Linked DNA regions of Homo sapiens: regions 2, 3 and 4 are each linked to region 1. Evidence: promoter capture Hi-C in 16 types of primary human blood cells and fetal thymus (Javierre and others, 2016). All regions are on one chromosome and are shown on one strand. The core of a region is centred on a gene start or on the middle of the fragment in contact, and the rest is flanking DNA. Distances in the headings are between cores, read along the strand shown.

Region 1 (2,540 bases), core at 14-2,513:
CCCTACGGAGGACGTAGGTGCTTTCATTGAGCCGCTGGGTGCAGCGGGAGCAGCCCAGACACAGGTCCACCAGGGCACACAGCCGGGCCAGGGACGGCCCTCTGGTGGCCGCGGGGCTGTTGGGCAGCAGGGTGGACCCTGGAGGCGCCACCTCGAACACCAGCTTGGCTCTCCAGGGAGGCGTCTGAGGCTCCTGAGCTCACGGGTCCACGCAGTCCACTGGAACTGTTGGCCACGGTTCGAAGCCTGCGACAGAAGGAGCAGGTGAGACTGAGGCCAGAGGACATCTGGTCCAGGCCCAGCTCAGAAGCACGGCCTCTCCACCAGGCAAGGAGCTGGGGATCTGCCTATCCTGATGCCCAAGCAGAGGCCTCTCCACCAAGCAAGGAGTTGGGACTCTCCCCACCCTGACGCCCAAGTGGAGGCCTTGGCAGTAGCTGTGTCCTGTCAGGGAGTACAGGGCTCACTGACCCGGACACAGCCAGACCCTCCCTCCTGAAGGGTCTCAGGCCCCACCTAGAAGGAGCCAAGGTGACTGCTTGTGGAGCCCTGGAGGGGGCAGAGCCCTTGGCACAGTGCCGCCCCCAGGAGGCCGCACCCCTCTGCCCCAGCCAGGGGTCCTGTGCACCCCAGGGCCTCAGGCTCCTGACTCTTCTAAGGACACAGCACCTCCTTTTCTATTGAATGACCACTGGCCCCCAGGAAAAGAGGACTCCACATCTGCACCTGGGGAGGGGCCTCACGGAGAGGAGGGTACAGTGCCCACCAGAGCTCAGGGTGCCAGGAAGAGATGGGTCCCCGGGTCCCCACCGCAGCTGGGATGCTACAAGAAGAGTAAGTTTAAAAGCAACAGACTGGAGGCAGACTTCAGTATGAGAACCCGGCACTCCCCGCGGACCCCTCTGAGAAAACATCCGAGTCTGCCATCCAGAAAGGACGGGAGCCGAGACCCCAAAATCCTGCGCTCCAGTGGGTGCAGAGACCACAGCGCTGGGTCTTGCTGCGGAGGGTGCTGGTCCTGGACGGGCTGCACTGCCCCGGGCTGGGTCTGTGGCTCCCGGGACTCCGCGCCCCCGGCTGCACTCACCCTCCCGGACCCCCCCCTCCGCCCCCGGCCCCGCCACCCTGGGACCCCCGCGCTCACCCTCCTGGAGCCGCCCCTGGACCCCCGCGCCCCCGCCCCTCCGCCCTGGGACCCCCGCGCTCACCCTCCTGGAGCTGCCTGCCCTGCCGAGCCTGCCCAGGAGCTCTCAGTTTCGATTCTGGCCCGGGCACTGACGCTGATCGCGGAAATTACCTCACCGCCCCCCGCCCCGCCCCGCCCTGCCCCGCCTCCAGCGACAGCTCGGCCCCCGCTGCGAGGGAACCTCGGGAAGCGCCAGCGAGCAGAGGACGCCCCTCCCTGAAGGGCCAGCGCCGTCGAAGGCGGAGGCGGCTGGGGGTGGGGGTCCTTTCCCGCACCCCTCCAGGGCCCCACGCCCCGTCCAGCCCTTCACACACCAGAGACGCCCCGATGATGTGCCAGGCGGAAGGGGTGAGACCCTGCCCGGCCCTGGACGGCAGGATGGTCTGGTGACTCCACCATCAGCCCCTGGAGAAATCCAGGCACAGCTGACCTGGAAGCCTGGGTCCCCTGACAGGCAGGACCTGCCCGTGGCCCTGGTGCTGCTGGGACCCCAAGTCCCTTCTGTCACCAACCAGGATATGGCAGGAATGGCTAAGTGGCCGCCGGGTCCCAGAGTCAGCACGCCTGGCTCTTGGCTCTCTGGACTGGCTCTGGGCCCTCAGCAGCCCTGTGGGGAGGCCCCATAGAGGAGCTGAGGCCTCCAGCCCACTTGCAGCTCGAGTCCCAGCCCCAGCCTTACTGCCATCTCAGGGAGACCCCAGGCCTAACCCTCCCACCTAGACCACGCCCAGCTGTTAGATGTCTATGTTTAAAATAAACGTCCCATTAGCCAGGGGTGGGGGCGGGCGCCTGTAGTCCCAGTTACTCGGGAGGCTGAGGCAGAAGCATTGCTTGAACCAAGGAAGTGGAGGTTGCAGTGCGCCAAGATTGCGCCACTGCACTCCAGCCTGGGCAACAGAGCAAGACTCCATCTCAAAACAAATAAATAAATAAAATAAACATCTGTGTTGTTTTAAGCCCCTGAGCTTTGGGGCGATCTGTTCTGCAGCAGTAGATAACGGACAGTGATGCTGCCCCTGAAACAAGGAAGCAAGGCTGCCACCCAAGGCCAGCACCTCGTGGGGAGGGCCAGGCTGGGGGCTCACAGCGACCTCGGGAGGTCGGCTGGGTGGGCCGTCAACCACCAGGGAGCCTCTCCGCAGACCAATCACGTTGGAGCTCCTGGGAGAGGGCAGGCCCTCGACAATAGCAGCCCCAGGGGCCGGGCGCTGAGCAGGGTCCATGTGCGTGGAACGCTGGGAGAATTTGTGTGGAACGCTGTGTTCCTGGATGGAGAGGCTCAACACCACACAAAGACGTGAGTTCCTCCTAAACTAACCTGCAGTCGCATGGTGGACACACTGACTTTCAAGTC
Region 2 (2,540 bases), core at 26-2,525, 370 kb after region 1:
GGCTCAGTGTCTCTTGGCTGTCCCGTCCCGCCCCGCTGCCCAAGCCTGGGGATGGCCGGGGCAGCAGCAGGTCTAGGAGCGGGCAGGAAAAGGGCGGGGTGGAGGCAAGAAAGAGGTGGGACAGGGAGGAGGCAAAGCCGGAAAGGGGCATGACAGGGGCAGGGAATGGGGCGGGGCAGGAAAGGGGGTGATGCAGGGGCAGGAAGAGGAAAGCGACAGGCCACAGAATTGGGTGTGGCAGGGGAAGGAAAGAGGCAGGGCACGGAATTGGGTGTGGCAGGGCAGAAAAGAGGCGTGACAGCGGCAGGGAAAGGGGCGGGGCCGGGAATGGGGTGTGGCAGGGCAGAAAAGAGGCGTGACAGCGGCAGGGAAAGGGGCGGGGCCGGGAATGGGGTGTGGCAGGGCAGAAAAGAGGCGTGACAGCGGCAGGGAAAGGGGCGGGGCCGGGAATGGGGTGTGGCAGGGCAGAAAAGAGGCGTGACAGCGGCAGGGAAAGGGGCGGGGCCGGGAATGGGGTGTGGCAGGGCAGAAAAGAGGCGTGACAGCGGCAGGGAAAGGGGCGGGGCCGGGAATGGGGTGTGGCAGGGCAGAAAAGAGGCGTGACAGCGGCAGGGAAAGGGGCGGGGCCGGAAATGGGGTGTGGCAGGGCAGAAAAGAGGCGTGACAGCGGCAGGGAAAGGGGCGGGGCAGGAGCAGGAAAGAGGGCCTAGCGGGAGCAGCGGGGCAAGGGGCTACGGGAAGGCGGGTCACACAGCAGCACCACGGAGCACACTGCTCACATATCCCAACGTAGCTTCCTCTGCTTGCCAGGTGAAGAGCATGTTCAGGGAGGGAACAAGGCAGGAAACGGGGGTTTACAGAGAGAAGGAAGAGAACAAAGAGAAGGCTGCTTAGTTGGGGAGCAGGGCGTTCCCCGCAGGCCTGAGGAGGAGTGTGGGCGGTCAGGCCCCCAGCCCTGCCTGACCCTCCCTCCTGCCCCCGACCAAGGCTTCCTGGGGCTGAAGGAAGTGAGTGCAGCCACAGGCCAACACTTCCTTGGCTGACCAGACGACGGAAAATGTGTCTGGCTGCGTTCAGGTGTTTTTCCAAGTTTGAAACCCTGGAAAGTTTTTCCTCTCAGAACAAAAGCTTCAGGAGGAACCTGACGGGACAAGACCTGCGGGTTCCTAGGCCGAGGAGAGGGCCAAGCGGAGACTCATGCAGGCACCGGAAGCTGGACGGCTGGTGGACGGGCCCTGGAGGCATTTCCAACATTTGGCAAACTCTTTGGAGGGCTCTGAATGTGAGGGCTCTCCCTCCAGGTGGCTCAGTCAGGAGCCTCCCAACCCACAGAAGGCAGGGAGAAGGGCAGGTCCCTTGTGGCTGACCCCCCTGCATGCCTGCCCTTGGGGAGGGACAGTGGGATGCGGCCCCGGCCCAGCCCAAGCTTCTTGCTGCAGTTGCCCAGTTCCTGCTGGCAGAGCTGTGCGGGCTGCGAGGACAGAGCTGGGGCAAGCAGGACCCGGGTGGGTGGGAGGACAGGCGCGAGGCCCTCCACCTGCAACCAGGGAAAGCTGACTGGTCCGTGAGGCTGGGCACAGGAGGTACAGCAGGCTCCCTGGCTGCTGGGACATGTCTGTAGTCACTGCCCCAGAGGCCTGGCAGTGCTGGCTCAGGAGGACAGCTGTGCTCTCTGGGGTCAAATCCCATAGACAGACTCAGGAGTCAGGGGAGCCTCCAGCAAAGTCTGGCCAGGACAGGGTCAGGACTCCGTGACGCTGGGCAAGCTACTTCACGTCTCTGTGCCTCAGTGTCCTCATCTGCCAGCAAGGGGAGGCAGAAGCAGGGCTGGGACCACTCCACACCACCCCTTCTGTGACTGGGGAAGAGCCAGCTGCCTGGCTGGATCACAGCCCAGACCCCAGAGCTCCTTGGAGGTGTTGGAAGTGCCTCCATCTGTGCAGACAGCTGTGCAAGTCTTACCTGACGCTGAGTTCACGCTGTGGCAGCAACACAGGAAGACACAAGGGAACGGTGGCGCGTCAGTGACCAGGGCAGGCGGCCAGGCCACCCCCACCCAGGAATGGACATGCTGCAGGCCCGCGGGGACACAGCCAGCCATGGGGGGTGGCAAGCTTCTAATGCCTGTAACCTGGGGACCACCTGGGCCAGACCTGCAGTTCTGCGTTGGGGCAATCAGAGCCAGGACCCTGGGCTCTGTTCTGCAGGCCTCAGGCCTTCAACATCCTGGTAGGGAGTGTGTTCAGAGCCACTCAGGCTCCAAGGCCCAGCCATAGAATGCCTCAGGGAGCAGGGGACCTCTGGTGGGGGTGTCGCTCCTGGGGTGACCCCCTGAGAAAGAGAGGAGCCTGGCCTGGCGTGGGACTCAGCAGTGAAACCCCACAATCCTGGGCCAGCAGGTCATGCCTGTCTTCCCAAAAGCTCAGGCTGGGTGTGCTGAGCGGGCTGCACCCTCGGCTGGGTCCTGAGCACCTGTACCCCCACCCCAGCTTCCTCAGGGAACCCAGGCCCTGCACAGCACAACGGGATGGGGTCTGGGC
Region 3 (2,540 bases), core at 15-2,514, 310 kb after region 1:
CCCAGAGCTCTGCAGGGGAAGGCAGTAAAAGCTCCCTGCATCCTGACCCACGTGTTTGTAGATCCTTTCAGCTATTGGCGCCCTGGAGGATGGACGGGAAGGAGAACGTGGCCGGTGGGTGGAGGATAGCACTGGTGCCTGGCCCCATGAGGCTGCAATGCGGCCACATTCTCAGTGGGTCATGTCTGAATGCGAGAGCAGCTGTGTTCTGCGAGTGGTGAAACAATTGCCTGTTGCATTCTATTTATAGGCAGAGGTAACTAAAAACCTCAGTGCTGAGAGGGGCATCATATAGATCCTGCAGTTATGAGCTGGTTCACTTGGAGTTGTTTTGGTTGCAGGTGACAGAAAGCACGACTCAAGGTAGCATCAACCAAACAGGGAGGTGGGAGCACTCACCAGGCAGAGAAGTCCCTGCCCCCACTGCTGCAGCCCAACAGTGTGGCCCCATATGGGTCTCCCTGGACTAATGGCTGCGGCCTTGGAGGTGGTGTGCTCTGGCCAGGCCTGGATCACTTGTCCATCCTGAGTGGGAGTGGGGGCAGCCCCCAGAGACAGACTCAGGAGAGGGGGAGTGCAAGGATGTCCCCCAGATGCCCTGTGCTGCCCAGGGGACAGCTCACTGGCAGTGGGACGAAACCGCTGTCTGTCCAGGGCTCTCTTCCTAGAAGGTCTTAGGAACTCCCAAATGGGTGCTGGCTGGGGTTGCCCGGCCCGGTGCTCTCAAGGAGAGCTGAAGCTAGTTATTGGGTGCAGATGCTGGCTCTGACCCCTGCCCCTTCCTCCCGGGCTCAGCTTCCCCATCTGTCATGGAGTAATAACAACCCAGCCTTCTGGTCCACTGAGGAATGTGTGTGCCTGTGTGTTTGACGCTCTCAGAACAGGCCTGCAGCGCTGTGAGCCTTGGAAGGGGGCCTCACAGCTGCTGCCGCCACCTTGGAGGCCCAGGATGGGACTGAGAAGGGGAAGGGAGAGGTCAGAGCCACAGCTGTTGGGCAGGGACCTGCTGTAGGAAGAGAAGGCCAGGGAGGCGCTGGTGGTGGCCTCAGGCTATGCAGGTGATGCCCATTGTTTCCAGGGCCATCCCAGTTTGGAGGTTCCTGTTTCTAGAGGAGGTTCCCTTGTGACCCCCTCATTTCCACACCCGAGCAATGCTGAGGGCTGTGGGGCCCCCAGGGGCTTGAGTGTGGTTTATGGCACAGCAGGGACTGATCACAGTGGCACCGGGTGTCAGTGGCCAGTGGTCAGTGGCCAGGAACCCTCAGGACCCTCCTCCTTGTGTGGGTGGCATTTACCCACCCACAGGTCACGCTCAGGACCCGCATCTCATTCCGATCCTCCTTGTGTGGGTGGTACTTACCCACCCACAGGTCACGCTCAGGACCCCACATCTCATTCTGAAGGCCGGGCACAGGCGGTTGTTTTCTCTCCAACTTCGGTTTCCCCATCCCCACTCTTAGGGCACAAATGCAGGTGTAGCTTCCCCATGCCCACTCTTTAGGCACAAATGCAGGTGTAGCTTCCCCATCCCCACTCTTAGGGCACAAATGCAGGTGCAGCTTCCCCATCCCCACTCTTAGGGCACAAATGCAGGTGCAGCTTCCCCATCCCCACTCTTTAGGCACAAATGCAGGTGCAGCTTTCCCATCCCCACTCTTAGGGCACAAATGCAGGTGCAGCTTTCCCATCCCCACTCTTAGGGCACAAATGCAGGTGCAGCTTCCCCATCCCCACTCTTAGGGCACAAATGCAGGTGCAGCTTCCCCATCCCCACTCTTAGGGCACAAATGCAGGTGCAGCTTCCCCATCCCCACTCTTTAGGCACAAATGCAGGTGCAGCTTCCCCATCCCCACTCTTTAGGCACAAATGCAGGTGCAGCTTCCCCATCCCCACTCTTAGGGCACAAATGCAGGTGCAGCTTCCCCATCCCCACTCTTTAGGCACAAATGCAGGTGCAGCTTCCCCATCCCCACTCTTTAGGCACAAATGCAGGTGCAGCTTTCCCATCCCCACTCTTAGGGCACAAATGCAGGTGCAGCTTCCCCATCCCCACTCTTTAGGCACAAATGCAGGTGCAGCTTCCCCATCCCCACTCTTAGGGCACAAATGCAGGTGCAGCTTCCCCATCCCCACTCTTAGGGCACAAATGCAGGTGCAGCTTCCCCATCCCCACTCTTTAGGCACAAATGCAGGTGCAGCTTCCCCATCCCCACTCTTAGGGCACAAATGCAGGTGCAGCTTCCCCATCCCCACTCTTTAGGCACAAATGCAGGTGCAGCTTCCCCATCCCCACTCTTAGGGCACAAATGCAGGTGCAGCTTCCCCATCCCCACTCTTTAGGCACAAATGCAGGTGCTGTGAGCGCTTTAGAATCCTCTGCTGCAGGTGACTTTGCTTCAGCGAACCACAGAATGTTCACATGGTTTTATGCATTTGTTATTTCAGGGAAAATCAAGGTTAAAGATGTCTTCAGAATTTGTATTTTTGGGCTGGGCACGGTGGCTCACACCTGTAATCCCAACACTTTTGGAGGCTGAGG
Region 4 (2,540 bases), core at 16-2,515, 290 kb after region 1:
TGGCATATTATTCTGTATTTTATCTGGCAACCTAGAATGGGGGTAATAGCCCCCCAAATCGCTCCCTTTGTTAATTGGTCCCTGTCTTCTGTCCCCCAACCCCTAAAGGCAGCAGCTGACTCCCCCAACTAGGGGCGGGGCCTGTTAGGGTCAGGCAGTGCCTCTAACCCAGACGCTGAGCAGGAGAGCAGAGAGGGGGTGCTTCAGCCTGAAACTACCCCTTCCCCAGAAGGCTGGGGTCCCAGGCGGGCCTGGCACCTGGGCTCAGAGGCTCTGGCTGGATTTGCCAAACTCCCTGATTGTAGCATGTTTGTTTCTGGTCTGGGGAGCTGTTGAGTACCTGGAGCTGCCCTCTTCCCTGGGGCTCCTCCTGGCAGGCGGCTTCCGACCCTGCCCTCAGGTGGGCTGGCCCTTTCCAGGGCAGGAGAAAAGATACCTCTCCAGAAAAGAGGGAGGCGCAGCCTGGGAGTGGGGGCTCGACCCAGGAGCGAGAAAGAGGAACCCCAGCCAGGCAGGACCCGCCCCAGAAGGTCACTGCTGTTGCTGGCAGCCAGTGAAAAGAGGATCCAGAAAAGGAGAGGGCTTGTTTCTGGTCAGCACCGAAGAAGGAAGGTGTGGAGAGGAGGGGCCGGGCCGAGAGCAAATACCGCCTTTTTGGTGCAGCAGCAGCCCTGTCTCTGACCCCGGCCGTCCTGGGGAGATGAGGTTTAAACCAGCAGACCCTGAAGGGAAACTTGCAGGACCCACAGCAAGCCTGGTACAGGCGGAGGAGGCCTTGCTGTCCCTTTTTGGCCCGTGGGGCTGTCCATCTTAAATTTAAGGAAGAGGGAGGCGGGGTGCAGGGACTCACACCTGTAATCCCAACACTGTGGGAGGTGGAGGCGGGGTGCAGGGACTCACACCTGTAATCCCAACACTGTGGGAGGTGGAGGCGGGAGGATCGCTTGAGCCCAGGGGTTCAAGACCAGCCTAGGCAGCATAGTGAGACCCCATCTCAATTTAATAAATAAATAAGGAAGAAAGAGGGAGACAGTAGCTGCTCAAATCATGGGTGGGAAAGCTGGGCCTGGGAGCGTTTAGCTGGTGGGGTCTTGGCGAAGGCGGGGGACGGGCAGAACCTTGGGTTCATCATCTCTGGGAACCCTTTGTGCACCCATCACCTAGCAACAGGATGCAGCCTTCCCTCCGCCCTGGAAGGCCAGGTCACAAAGGCCATCAGGGCTTGTCCGGGAGCCGGTATCCCCTAAGACTGCCCTGTGCCTCTCGCGGCGATCCCGGCCCAGCGGCTGGGCGTTAGGGCCACCGCTCATGTGCGTCATCTGCTTCGTGAAGGCGCTGGTGCGCGTGTTCAAGATCTACCTGACCGCCAGCTACACCTACCCATTCCGCGGCTGGCCCGTGGCCTTCCGCTGGGATGACGTGCGCGCCGTGGGCCGGAGCAGCAGCCACCGGGCGCTGACCTGCGCGGCAGCCGCGGCGGGCGTGTGGTTGCTGCGGGACGAGACGCTGGGCGGGGATGCGCTGGGGCGGCCTCCACGTGGGGCGCGCAGCCAGGCGCAGTGCCTCTTGCAGCAGCTCCGCGAGCTGCCCGGCCAGCTCGCTAGCTACGCGCTGGCCCACTCGCTGGGCCGCTGGCTCGTGTACCCCGGCTCCGTGTCCCTGATGACGCGCGCGCTGCTGCCGCTGCTGCAGCAGGGCCAAGAGCGCCTCGTGGAGCGCTACCACGGCCGGCGCGCCAAGCTGGTGGCCTGTGACGGCAACGAGATCGACACTATGTTCATGGACCGCCGCCAGCACCCGGGCAGCCACGTGCACGGGCCGCGCCTCGTCATCTGCTGCGAAGGCAACGCGGGCTTCTACGAGATGGGCTGTCTGTCTGCACCGCTCGAGGCCGGCTACTCCGTGCTGGGCTGGAACCACCCCGGCTTCGGCAGCAGCACTGGCGTGCCCTTCCCTCAGCACGACGCCAACGCCATGGACGTGGTGGTCGAGTACGCACTGCACCGCCTGCACTTCCCGCCCGCGCACCTGGTGGTCTACGGCTGGTCTGTTGGCGGCTTCACGGCCACCTGGGCCACCATGACCTACCCGGAGCTGGGTGCACTGGTGCTGGACGCCACCTTCGACGACCTTGTGCCGCTGGCGCTGAAGGTCATGCCCCACAGTTGGAAGGGGCTGGTGGTGCGCACCGTGCGCGAGCACTTCAACCTCAACGTGGCCGAGCAGCTGTGCTGCTACCCGGGGCCGGTGCTGCTGCTCCGACGCACGCAGGATGACGTGGTCAGCACTTCGGGCCGCCTGCGCCCCCTGTCACCTGGTGACGTGGAGGGCAACCGGGGCAATGAGCTGCTGCTGCGCCTGCTGGAGCACCGCTACCCCGTCGTGATGGCGCGAGAGGGCCGCGCCGTCGTCACCCGCTGGCTGCGCGCTGGCAGCTTGGCGCAGGAGGCCGCCTTCTATGCACGCTACCGCGTGGACGAGGACTGGTGCCTGGCGCTGCTGCGCTCCTACCGTGCACGCTGCGAAGAGGAGCTGGAGGG

Evidence for each region. The method cuts DNA at HindIII sites, captures the fragments that hold promoters and counts their contacts. A CHiCAGO score of 5 or more calls a contact.
Region 2: a contact is called between a fragment that was not itself captured here and the fragment with the promoter of HELZ2 in region 1, in 1 of 17 cell types (monocytes). The highest score is 5.2, in monocytes.
Region 3: a fragment that was not itself captured here is called in contact with the fragment with the promoter of HELZ2 in region 1 in 2 of 17 cell types (naive CD4 T cells and M1 macrophages); the score reaches 5.9 in naive CD4 T cells.
Region 4: the fragment with the promoter of ABHD16B here is called in contact with the fragment with the promoter of HELZ2 in region 1 in 3 of 17 cell types (M1 macrophages, non-activated CD4 T cells and neutrophils); the score reaches 7.3 in M1 macrophages.

The regions. Positions count from the first base shown.
Region 1 is chr20:63,572,976-63,575,515 of GRCh38, forward strand. HELZ2 (helicase with zinc finger 2) reads right to left here and starts at 1,264. Exons shown (of 20, transcript NM_001037335.2): 1 at 1,209-1,264; 2 at 1-246. RefSeq lists silencers at 609-668, 1,309-1,588 and an enhancer at 1,373-2,100. The HindIII fragment of the contact is 21,413 bases long and covers 1-2,540 here.
Region 2 is chr20:63,941,691-63,944,230 of GRCh38, forward strand. It overlaps UCKL1 (uridine-cytidine kinase 1 like 1), which reads right to left. Exons shown (of 15, transcript NM_017859.4): 8 at 1,963-1,979. It overlaps MIR647 (microRNA 647), which reads right to left and starts at 1,036; the gene lies at 941-1,036. RefSeq lists enhancers at 628-1,341, 1,342-2,053. The HindIII fragment of the contact is 298 bases long and covers 1,127-1,424 here.
Region 3 is chr20:63,878,121-63,880,660 of GRCh38, forward strand. All of the region lies in intron 4 of TPD52L2 (TPD52 like 2), which reads left to right. Among named protein-coding and RNA genes, the nearest start is that of TPD52L2, 14 kb to the left of the region's middle. RefSeq lists an enhancer at 49-218. The HindIII fragment of the contact is 6,839 bases long and covers 1-2,540 here.
Region 4 is chr20:63,860,233-63,862,772 of GRCh38, forward strand. It overlaps ABHD16B (abhydrolase domain containing 16B), which reads left to right and starts at 1,266. Exons shown (of 1, transcript NM_080622.4): 1 at 1,266-2,540. The coding sequence starts at 1,309. ABHD16B-AS1 (ABHD16B antisense RNA 1) reads right to left here. Exons shown (of 2, transcript NR_165314.1): 2 at 983-2,540. The HindIII fragment of the contact is 10,144 bases long and covers 1-2,540 here.